2 separate regions of the Homo sapiens genome follow, and region 1 is linked to region 2. Evidence: promoter capture Hi-C in 16 types of primary human blood cells and fetal thymus (Javierre and others, 2016). All regions are on one chromosome and are shown on one strand. Each heading gives the region's core, a stretch centred on a gene start or on the middle of the fragment in contact. The rest is flanking DNA. Distances are from core to core; before and after follow the strand shown.

Region 1 (5,563 bases), core at 2,308-4,807, 46 kb after region 2:
TATTTTACATGAAAATCTTCCATCCTCTCCATACATCCCATGCTATCCTCCATTCCCCACCCTGCTTGGCCCAGGCTATGCCTAGAAGCAAGTCAAAGGCAGGTAGAAGCTTGGGCTGAGGCTGCCTGAGATGCCTCAAGCACTCTGGTCCACAGAGACAGTCAACAAGTGACCGTGGTCTCCAGGCCCAGAAAGAGTCTGACCACATCTGATCATGGCTATAAACAGGAGCCTGGCAACAGGAGCAGGACCTGCTGACAGGATCAGTGGGCTGGTCATGTCAGCTCCCAGTCGTAGGAGTGGGGCAGGGTGAGGGCAGGAAGAGCAGTCTCTGGGTGCCACACTCACCCTCACCTGTTTGTCTGCCCTTACACCTCAGGCTGGTCCCGAAAGTGGGGCTCTGTCCACAAAACCCCTGCCTGGACAGTCCTTGACCTACAAGTTGCAGGCATGTGTCTGGCCATTGGTCAGACTCACTGTTCTCACGACCACAGGAAGGTGTCCAGCTTGGCCTGGAAGAGAGAAGGCACTGTCTTCACCCTCACCCTCTGCTTAACCTTGGTCTTGGGCTTAACAGGCAATGGGCGGATCATGACTGTGTCAGTCTGGAGGAGCTGTCAAGGAAGAGGCATGGAGAAAGGACTGCAATGCAGGGCGAGAAAGGACTGCAATGCAGGGCAAGAAAGGCTCAGAGCCGGGGGTGGGCGGCGCTGATACACAGAATGAGGCCCAGCACTGCACACCTGAGGCTGTTGGCACTGGCAGGCTGGGGGTATAGGTGAGGCATAGTATGGGCTCCACAGTTCAGCTCAGCTCAACATCACAGGAAAAGGATACAGGCTGGATGAATTTTGTCCGGCCACCGAGCCCATCGAAGCCTGTCCTTACCTAGGGTGGAAGGAAGAGATGAGTGGGCCAGGCTAATGGGCTGGGGGGCTGGCCACCCATTTCTACCCAAGAGGGCTGGCTCCTGCCACTGTGGGAAGCCACACTCACCACATCTTTGCTGCAAGAGGACTCTGACCTGGGCCTCTTGGGCTGTTTCTGGCCTAGGATGGCATTCCGGACAAAAATAGGGAAGGCACCAACCAGTTCCTCATCTGGCTCTCCTGCACAGCTCTGGCCACCCAGTGAGAGCTGGGACTCCTGCAGGGAAGACCCCAGGGCCAGACTTGATGAGCTGGATGTCAGCAAAGGAGGGAGGGTAGTGGTGGTGGAACAAGATCAGGATCTCTGATGCCTCACTAGGAGGCAGGAGGGATAATGAGTAGAATCCCAAGGGTGGCTCCGAAGTACCTCAGTCCTGGACCAGGAGTGACAAGGCTCTGGCAAGACCGTGCCCTCCCAAAAGTCCAGTCCTGCCAAAGGTTAGACTGTGCTTCTTCTAGAAAGCTCTTACCTTCCTGGGGCCTTTGCATATCTTCTTGGGGACATCCTGAATTGGGGAGCTACAAGAATGAGAGAGAAGGCAAGGGGTAGGTAAGCAAGACATGGGGGCAGGTGAACCAGGCTCAGCACACGCCCCTTGGGGAGTTACCATGTGGCACTGCTGCTGCCATGCCTGCATTCTGGGCAAGGCACCTCAGTGATCCCACCCCAAGTGCAGGTCTGTTAACAGCTGGACAGCCACAGCCAGTAGGGTGGCAGAGACAGGGATGACTGGGGATGACTGGACCATGTCCCAATCCTGTGGCTTCCACTCAAGGCCAAATTCCAACGCTCCTCAAGTCCTCGGGCACCTCACCATGTCCCAGGCTCTATATGGGGCTGAAGAGCCCAATCAACTCACCACCCACGGGAGGAAAGCCAGTCATGCCCTGATACGAGCAAAAGAAATTTAATGAGCTCAGGCCTAGTCCTGTCTTCCCAGAGAGGGGACACTACCTCCACGAGAGCCTCAGTAAGTTAGCCTTTCAGTAAAGTAGCCCACAAAATCCTCTCAGAACACAGGGCCAAGCCATCTCCCTAGAGAGTGTGTCTAAGAAGGGCCTGGGGCAGAATAGCGCATGGCCCCAGGCCCTGGTCTCCCAATCCCAGCCCCAGAGCCAGAAACTGTATTTCCATCCAATTCCTGGGGAACCCAGCAGCTGGATACCCTCTCCTGGCATTTTCCCTGGTGGGTGAGAAGATGGTGATCTAAGGCTGGCCCTGTGGCTTCTCAAGCCATAAGGACAAGAGTGGGATCAGGGCCTGATGACTGACTCCTCTGCTCCTGCCCTAACGGCCTGTGGTAAGGCTACATGACAACCAAGGCTCCAGGAAGGACGAGCTGAGTTAGGGACTCAGAACTTCACTACCTCCTTCACTACCTCCACAGGCCATGAAGGTGGTGGAAATGTCTCTGAAAGGCCTGGCAGCCTGAAGACCCCAGGTGTCCACCTTCAACCTTTACAGCGGAAGAAGGGCAATGGGAGGAAGCCAGAGTACACAGCAGACACTGACAGGATCCCTGAGGACTACAGCCCACGGGTCCTAGGTTTGTTTCTCATTGCTACCAGGCCTCGCCCTCTACAACAGGGGTGCCCATGCCCCCTGAGGTTTGGGAGGTAGGACAGCCCAGCTGGCTTGCCCTCTTGCTCCCTTCCACCTCCACTGTCTAGCATCTCAGTTTCTTTCTCTTTCTCTTCTTTCTCTCTGTACAAAGTCTTTGAAAAAGAGGAAACCTGCCCAGCCCTTGACCAGCCTCACCTGAACAGTACCTGTATGAATGAGTATAGTCCTTGTCTCCACAGTGAATTACACTTGGCAAAGCTGGCCAAGGAGACAGCCTCCCTTTTTCTGGTCCCACCGTACCCCAGAGCAGGTTCCACCTGCCCCACTGGAATTCCAGACAGCTTCTCATGCTTGCCCCTGTGGGTCACCCCCTTGGGTGGTAAGGCCTTGGGCTCTGTGGTTTGAGATGATCCTCCCTCAGGCATGAGCCTCAGAGGCAAACATAGAAGAGGAAGTTCAGAGTCCCTCGCTCAGGACTCTGGTGGGCAGGCCTTCAAGGTATTGGGAGCACCCTCTCCAGCCCAGACCCACCCCTTCTGGCATCACTGCATTCTCTCTAACTTGCATTCCAATACGTTTGCCTTGAAAGGTGATGGTGAGGAATAATGAGAAAAGAGAAGGGGTTTGCACAGATTGAGTGCTCAGGTGAGGGAACAAGAGGTAGCTGGAACCAAAGCCATGGCCAAGCCTAGGCAACCCTCACTGCCCCATCAGCCACTCAGAGCTAACAGCACAGGGCCTGCAGAGCTGTCTTAGCTATCCCCCTACCAGCCCATGGACAGTGCCAGCGACTATCACTCACTGTGACTTCTCTAGGCAAAGTTTTTCGTAGTAACCATGCTGGGAGCTGGAGGGCCGGGCTGGGGGAGTATCCACATCAAAGGTAGCATTGAGATCAATATCATCACGGAAGGATGGCCGGCGGAGCTTCAGATTCACCTCCACAGGGGCTGGGCTGAAGGCAGAGATGACCTGGTTACTTGGGGCCACAGTGGTAACCCAGGACAACAGCTCCTGAAGCATCAGAGATAACTCAGCTCCAGGGACCTGGAGCCCACTCCTGACTCAAGGCCACCCCTCAAGAGAGCCCTACTCTCGGCCAGGCACAGTGGCTCACGCCTGTAATCCCAGCACTTTGGGAGGCCAAGGCGGGTGGATCAAGCGGTCAAGAGATCAAGACCACCCGGGCTAACATGGTGAAACCCCATCCTACTAAAAATACAAAAATTAGCTGGGTGTGGTGGCTTGTGTCTGTAGTCCCAGCTACTCGGGAGGCTGAGGCAGGAGAATTGCTTGAACTCGGGAGGCAGAGCTTGCGGTGAGCCGAGATCGCGCCACTGCACTCCAGCCTGGGCGACAGAGCAAGACTCCGTCTCAGGAAAAAAAAAAAAAAAAGTTTAAATTTAATTTAATTTAAAAAGCACACAAAACTCCATGTATAGTGCAATTACATGATTTGGCACCCCCCCACCACTCCCACATGCAGAAAAAGGAGAAGGAAATATTCCACATGTCAACCATAAGTACCTCTATGATAACTCCCTATTTTCCAAATTCTCAATGAGTGTGTTTTTACTTTTATAACACGGGGGGGGGGGGGGGGTGGGGGGTGGGGAGTGAAGTTTTATTCTATTAAAACTACAGCCGACAGGATTCTTCCAGCCCACCCAGACCTGGCAGGGCTCCCCACCTCCTGTCATACAAGGAGAACCCTGGGGAATGGCAAGGGTAGCTCCAAAGATGCCTTCTCTCTTTCCTTCCTCAGGAACTTTTCAGAGCTGCACCACAATCCCACTTCCACTGGGGTGTACACATCAGAGGGAGGAAGCCTACCTGCATTGATTTGGGTGGCTAAGCAATCCAGGCAGCCTGGACTATTTCTTCCTTTCCCTGTCCAGGACCCTAGAAGCTCTACCTCTGTCCCCGCCTGCAAGTTAAAATGAAGACTGCACAAACCCACCTCAAACCAACTCTAGGCTGGCTGCTTTGCTTCCTCCTCTGGGAACCACAGCAGCCAGGACCACTCATGCCAACTTTTTTGCAGTATCCATATTCTGCCACCATTTACCAACCCCAGCAAGTTGAGGCTCAGGTTAGGAAAGGTAAACTCAAGAGGAAGGCAGGATCTCGCTGGGTCCTGTAAATTTTACCCTCCAGGTGGCTCAAGGCAGGACTTTCTACTCCCAGCCATCCCCTAAGGCGTTGCCTAGTGGTGCCCAAGCTCAAGGCAAGCCAGGCTTATTCACTTGCACCTCCTGGTCATCCACAACACTAAACTCAAGACTCAGGAGGTTCTCACGGTGCCTCCCTCACTCCCCATATCCACATCTGGATCATATGGACACATTTCTTCCTCTCTTAGACTGTTTCTTTTTTTTTTTTTTGAGACGGAATCTTGCTCTGTCACCCAGGCTGGAGTGCAGTGGTGCGATCTCGGCTCACTGCAAGCTCCGCCTTCCGGGTTCAAGCCATTCTCCTGCCTCAGCCTCCTGAGTAGCTGGGGCTACAGGCGCCCGCCACCACGCCCAGCTAATTTTTTGTATTTTTAGTAGAGATGGGGTTACACCGTGTTAGCCAGGATGGTCTCGCTCTCCTGACCTCGTGATCTGCCCACCTCGGCCTCCCAAAGTGCTGGTATTACAGGCATGAGCCACCGCGCCCGGCCTTGTCTTAGACTGTTTCTATATTCTTCTTCCTTCATGAGCTTGAAGCCTATTTCCCTTTCTGCCAGGGGTCCACTTTCTTTCCTTCCCACTTTCTGTTTGTCCTACAAGGAGAAAGAACCTAGGGCTTAGTAGTCCTTCCCTCACTGGTTGAGGCTGGCTTGAGGCCCTCCTGAGTGACACTATCACCCTTGGGACACCCACCCATGGTCAAGTTACAGGGCTTCATGCCAGAGGCCTCAGGGAGCCAGGCAAGACACTCAAAGCTCCCCTTTCCAGAACAGAGCTAAGGCCTTGAGCAGCCCATTGCCTGCGTGGCATGGGATTAGTCAACATCTCCTCCATGAACTCATGGCTCCTGGCGGCCTTACCCTACCCTAAGGAAAGGTCTCCCTGGCTGTCTCTAG
Region 2 (5,467 bases), core at 939-3,438:
GCTAGGCGCGTGACCAGGCACAGTGGCTCACGCCTGTAATCCCAGCACTTTGGGAGGCCAAGGCAGGCGGATCAGGAGGTCAGGAGTTCGAGATCAGCCTGAACAACATGGTGAAACCAGGTCTCTACTAAAAATACAGAAATTAGCCGGGCATGGTGGCACGCACCTGTAATCCCAGCTACTTGGGAGGCTGGGGCAGGAGACTTGCTTGAACCCAGGAGGCAGAGGTTGCAGTCAGCTGAGATTGTGCCATTGCACTCCAGCCTGGGTGAGAGAACGAGACTTCGTCTCAGAAAAAAAAAAAAAAAGTAGGCTTGGCGCGGTGGCTCATGCCTGTAATCCCAACAATTTGGGAGGCGGAGGCGGGTTGATCATGAGGTCAGGAGTTCGAGACCAGTCTGGCCAACATAGTGAAACCCCGTCTCTACTAAAAATACAAAAATTAGCCAGGTGTGGTGGCACGTGCCTGTAGTCCCAGCTACTCGGGAGGCTGAGGCAGGAAAATTGCTTGAACCAGGGAGTCAGAGGTTGCAGTGAGCCGAGATGGCACCACTGTACTCCAGCCTGGCAACGGAGCAAGACTCCATCTCAAAAAAACAAAACAAAACAAAACAAAACAAAAAGTGCACAAAGTATTGTCGCTTGACTTCTTAGTCATCTCATGCAGGCATATTCTATGACCACATACAAGAAGACTGTACAAAGAACCAAAGAGGCCACAGGTCAAGAGAAATGTGTTTTGGAGCAATGAGAACTCTTCCTAGACCTGCACACTCTACTGAGGATCTCCAACTTGCCCAAATTCACAGGAAAGGGGCTTGAAGGTGTTTTCACTGAGCAAGATAATTTTAGTACTGTTAAAAGTTAATTTGCGCCGGGCATAGTGGCTCACACTTGTAACCCCAGCACTTTGGGAGGCCAAGGGGGGTGGATCACGAGGTCAGGAGTTCGAGACCAGCCTGGCCAACATGGTGAAACCCCGTCTCTATTAAAAATACAAAAATTAGCCGGGCATGGTGGCGCGTGTCTGTAGTCCTACCTACTCGGGAGGCTGAGGCAGGATAATCGCTTGAACCCGGGAGGTGGAGGCTGTGGTGAGCCGAGATCGCGCCACTGCACTCCGGCCTGGGCAACAGAGCGAGAGACTCTGTCTCAAAAGAAAAAAAAGAAAAAAAACAGTTAATTTGCCAGTTCCATATCATCCACAACAAAAACAAGTTTCTTTTTCCGATTCTAAGACACTCCTACGTTTCCTTTGTCTCCTATGGCGAGCATCCCTTTAGGAGATAAAATCAAGTCATCACCATAATACTCACTTTCTCCTAAAGCAAAAAGAGGAAGACATTACCACTCTCCAAAAAGTGGTGGTGAAGAACCAAAGAAATTATGTTCCAAAATAAAACTCAGCCATTATGGACATTTAACCAGGTTCTTTGCGAGGAAAACGGTGAGCTTCGAGGTACACGTGAGGTTCCGAACGGGTCTCAGGAAGCAGCAGCCAGGCAGAGGGTCCCCCTTGCCATAATCATAGGGCCGTGACACCGGCCTGCCTGGCTCGCGGGGGCTTTGGCTTGCTTCGTCTAGTCTTAGCATCCAGCGTCCTGAAAATCACTCGCAGGAACGCTATCTAAGAAAGAGGTAAGTCTATTTCTCAGCCAGGAGCAACATAACTCCCAGGAGAGCATCAGGGTGGCACCGGACACACTTTAGCGCTCCGGATCAGCGGAGTCCAGAGCTTCGGTCAGAGAAGCTGGTTTCCCGCTACTAGCCGGCCAACCCTCAGGCACTGGCGCTCTCCGTCCTCCACACCGGCTGTCCCCCCGGCTTCGGTGCCAGCATCTGGGAGGCTCGGCGGGCGGCCGGTCAGGACGCTCGAGCGATGTTCCAGTGATGGCCCCACCGGAGCCCCGACCCCACACGCGCCCACTCCAACCCCGCGCCCGCCACCGCCCTCCCCGCGGGCGTCAGGCCGGTCTATCGGCCCGGCTCCTGTCACTCACCTGCCCGGCCCGGGCACCGAGCGCCCACGGCTCCCTACGGGAGCTGGGCCCCCCGGGCCTCCAGGTTTCGGCCCGCCCCCTGGCAGGCAGCACAGGTGGCTGAGCACCGCTACAGCGGCCTCTCACCGGCCGCTTGGTCCAGCTCCCGGCGCTGCCCACTGGGTACGGATCAACAACAAGATGGCGGCTAGCCGAGGGGGCGGGGGCCGGGCGTCATAGTAACCAGGACTGCAAAGAACCCGCCCCCGAGGGGGTGCTATCCCCAATCAACAGTCTTTTTGCTCGTCGCCAGGGGAAGTGCTTCCTGCTGACAGGTCAGCTCACGTGTCAGTCAGAGTCTGCCTCTCAGGGCCTCTGCCGAAAGCGTGGGGCACGTGACTGTGACGGCATGGGTTGGCGCATGCGCTTCGTTCCCGGAGTGGCTGGCGGCGGAGTTTTCGCTGGCTACTACGAGGCCGGAGCGCCCTTGGCCTCTCTGCGTCCCTGGCCCTCGTGCGGTACCGGCGGCGTCTTGTCATACACTTGCGCACACACAGGGAATCTCAGCGGTGTGCTATTCGTTTTTTTGTCCCCCACTCTGGGAGAAGGGGGGTGCAGCCCCCAGTTCACTCTGGAGAGGAAACTGAGGCTCAGAGAGGGGAGGCCGAGCCAAGGTCACGCCACCTCTAGAAATGGAGGTGCTGGGTCTCGCACCTCCTCCTGCTGGTTTCAGAGTGTGAGGAGCCTCTATCCCAGCTTCCCACGCTTTGTCCCTTACTAGCCTCGAGGTACCGCAGTCTGTGCTGCCACAGCAGCCTCTGGCTCATTGCCCATGCTTTCCTGCCTGAGGTTTAGAGCCTAGCACAAGTCCTGACACACAGCGGGCACTCCCTTTTCTCTTCCCTAGAGCATCTTGTCTTGAGATCCTGTGACAGCATCTTTTGCCCTGGACTGTCATGACCGGCCTCCCAAGCAGACTAATGGTCCCAGGAAGATGGTCACACCTTGCTCCCCATACAGAACACCTAACTCTGGGCTTGGCTTCAGGCTTAGAACAACAGATGAAGTTACGTGGCCTGGGCCCACACCCAAATGCCCCAACTAGCTAACTCTGACTTTTGAGCCTTAGCCTCTCTTTAGCTTTGGTTGTCCCATCTGTAAAATGAAGATAAAAGTGGAGCTTCTCAGAGGAAGATTTAATGAGCCCTCAGAGCAGGGGAAGAACTCAGGAAAAATCTGCCTACAACCACTTCCTGGAACAACCTGCTTCCAAGTTGCTGTTCCTGAGGCGTGCCTTAAAACACTAACTTTGGTGGAAGCCCCATGAAGCGTTTTTGTTTTGCTTTGTTTTGTTCCCACAGAAGGCTTTCAGCTTCTTCCTGGCCCTGGGATACCATAACTGGTTCAGAAGGGGAGGTCCTCCTAGCTAGGCGCAGTGGCTCATGCCTGTAATCCAGCACTTTGGGAGGCCAAAGAAGGTGGATCACTTGAGGTCAGAGGTTCGAGACCAGCCTGGCCAAAATGGTGAAACCCTGTCCCTACTAAAAATACAAAAATTAGCTGGACGTGATGGCAGGTGCCTGTAATCCCAGCTACTCAGGAGGTTGAGGCAGGAGGATCACTTGAACCTGGGAGGCAGAGGTTCAGTGAGCTGAGATCACGCCACCACACTCTAGCCTGGGTGACAGAGCAAAATTCTGTCTCAAAAAAAAAAAAGGGAGGTTCTCCAGTACCCTGAGGGGGTTCAGGCCCACAGACTCAACAGACGAGTAAAGACTGTGATAACTTGGATTTACCACAGTAAGGTCCTCTTGGAGAGCTGGCAGAAGCCTGAGACCTGATGTCAGGTTGGGCATGGAGAGTGGGCCAACACTGCATCCAGCAAGACCTGCCCACCAGCAGATTGCTGCAGGCCACTTGGCTACATGCAATAGCTCAGGTCAACACAGGGAGATGTGAGAGCAGAGGAACCAGAAGAAACAGATCAGGAAGAAAAGCCAACAACCCTCAAAAGGGGGATTCTGCTAATCCTCCAGGACCAGCCATGCCACAGGATTCTCAAGTCTGCATCACCCCTCACCGCAGTGCAAAAGCTCCAGATCCTTCCCAAGAAAACCTCCACATACAGTTGGCAAATTGCCCTGAAGTTTGATGGGACCCTCAAAAAGCAACAGTGGTATAACTACTGTGGATAACAGTTCGGAGGTTCCTCAGAAAACTAAAAATACAGCTACCACATGATCCAGCAATCCCACTGCTGGGTATGTACCCAAAGGAAAGGAAATCAGTATATCAAAAAGATATCTGCACTTCCATGTTTGCTGCAGTGCCATTCACAATAGCCAAGATTTGGAAGCAACCTAAGTGTCCATCAACAGGTGAATGGATAAAGAAAATATGGTACATATGGGCCGGGTGCGGTGGCTCACGCCTGTAATCCCAGCACTTTGGGAGGCCGAGGCGGGCGGATCATGAGGTCAGGAGATGGAGACCATCCTGGCTAACACGGTGAAACCCCATCTCTACTAAAAATACAAAAAATTAGCCGGGCGTGGTGGCAAGCGCCTGTAGTCCCAGCTACTCAGGAGGCTGAGGCAGGAGAATGGCGTGAACCCAGAAGGCGGAACTTGCAGTGAGCCGAGATCACGCCACTGTGCTCCAGCCTGGGCAACAGAGCGAGACTCCATCTCAAAAAAAAAAAAAAGAAAAGAAAATATGGTACATATGCAGAATGGAATATTATTCAGCCATTAAAAAGAATGAGATTGTGAGATTGGCTGGTGCGGAGGCTCATGCCTGTAATCCCAGCACTTTGGGAGGCTGAGGCAGGAGGATCACCTGAGGTCAGGAGTTCAAGACCAGCCTGGCCAACATAGGAAAACTCCATCTCTACTAAAAATAAAAAATAAAAAAATTAGCCGGCATGGTGGTGCACACCTGTGGTCCCAGCTACTCAGGAGACTGAGGCACGAGAATTGCTTGATCATGAGAGGCGGAGGTTGCAGTGAGCCAAGATCGTGCCACTGTACTCCAGCCTGGGTGACAAAGTAAGACTACATCTCAAAAAAAAAAAAAAGGAAAAAGATTTAAACAAAACAATTGAATTCATGGAGATAGTGAGTAGAAGGATAGTTACCAGAGTCTGGAAGGGGTGGGGAGGTGGGACGGTTAATGGGTACCAAAAAAAAAGAAAAATGAATAAGACCTAGTGTTTGATAGCACAACAGAGTGACTGTAGTCAATAATAACTTAATTGTACAGTTTAAAATAACTGAAAGAGTATAATTGGATTATTTGTAACACAAAGGATAAATGCTTTAGGGGATGGATGCCCCATTTTCGATGAGGTGATTATTAACCATTACATGCCTTATTAAAACATCTCATGTACCTCCAAATTTATACACCTATGTACCCACAAAAATTAAAAATTAAGAAAAAAATTAAAAAGAGAAACATCTCAACAACAACAACAACAAAAGCAACAG

The links. Contacts are between HindIII fragments. The CHiCAGO score rates a contact against its expected background, and 5 or more counts as called.
Region 1: a contact is called between a fragment that was not itself captured here and the fragment with the promoter of IP6K1 in region 2, in 2 of 17 cell types (megakaryocytes and endothelial precursors). The highest score is 7.0, in megakaryocytes.

Annotation. Positions count from the first base shown.
Region 1 is chr3:49,828,621-49,834,183 of GRCh38, forward strand. TRAIP (TRAF interacting protein) reads right to left here. Exons shown (of 15, transcript NM_005879.3): 11 at 3,296-3,448; 12 at 1,400-1,448; 13 at 997-1,146; 14 at 838-888; 15 at 1-605. The coding sequence ends at 483. Among named protein-coding and RNA genes, the nearest start is that of UBA7, 17 kb to the left of the region's middle. The HindIII fragment of the contact is 6,901 bases long and covers 108-5,563 here.
Region 2 is chr3:49,784,354-49,789,820 of GRCh38, forward strand. It overlaps IP6K1 (inositol hexakisphosphate kinase 1), which reads right to left and starts at 2,189. Exons shown (of 6, transcript NM_153273.4): 1 at 2,001-2,189. RefSeq lists silencers at 1,803-2,152, 2,888-3,052, 3,833-4,042 and enhancers at 1,867-2,556, 2,643-2,712. The HindIII fragment of the contact is 18,469 bases long and covers 1-5,467 here.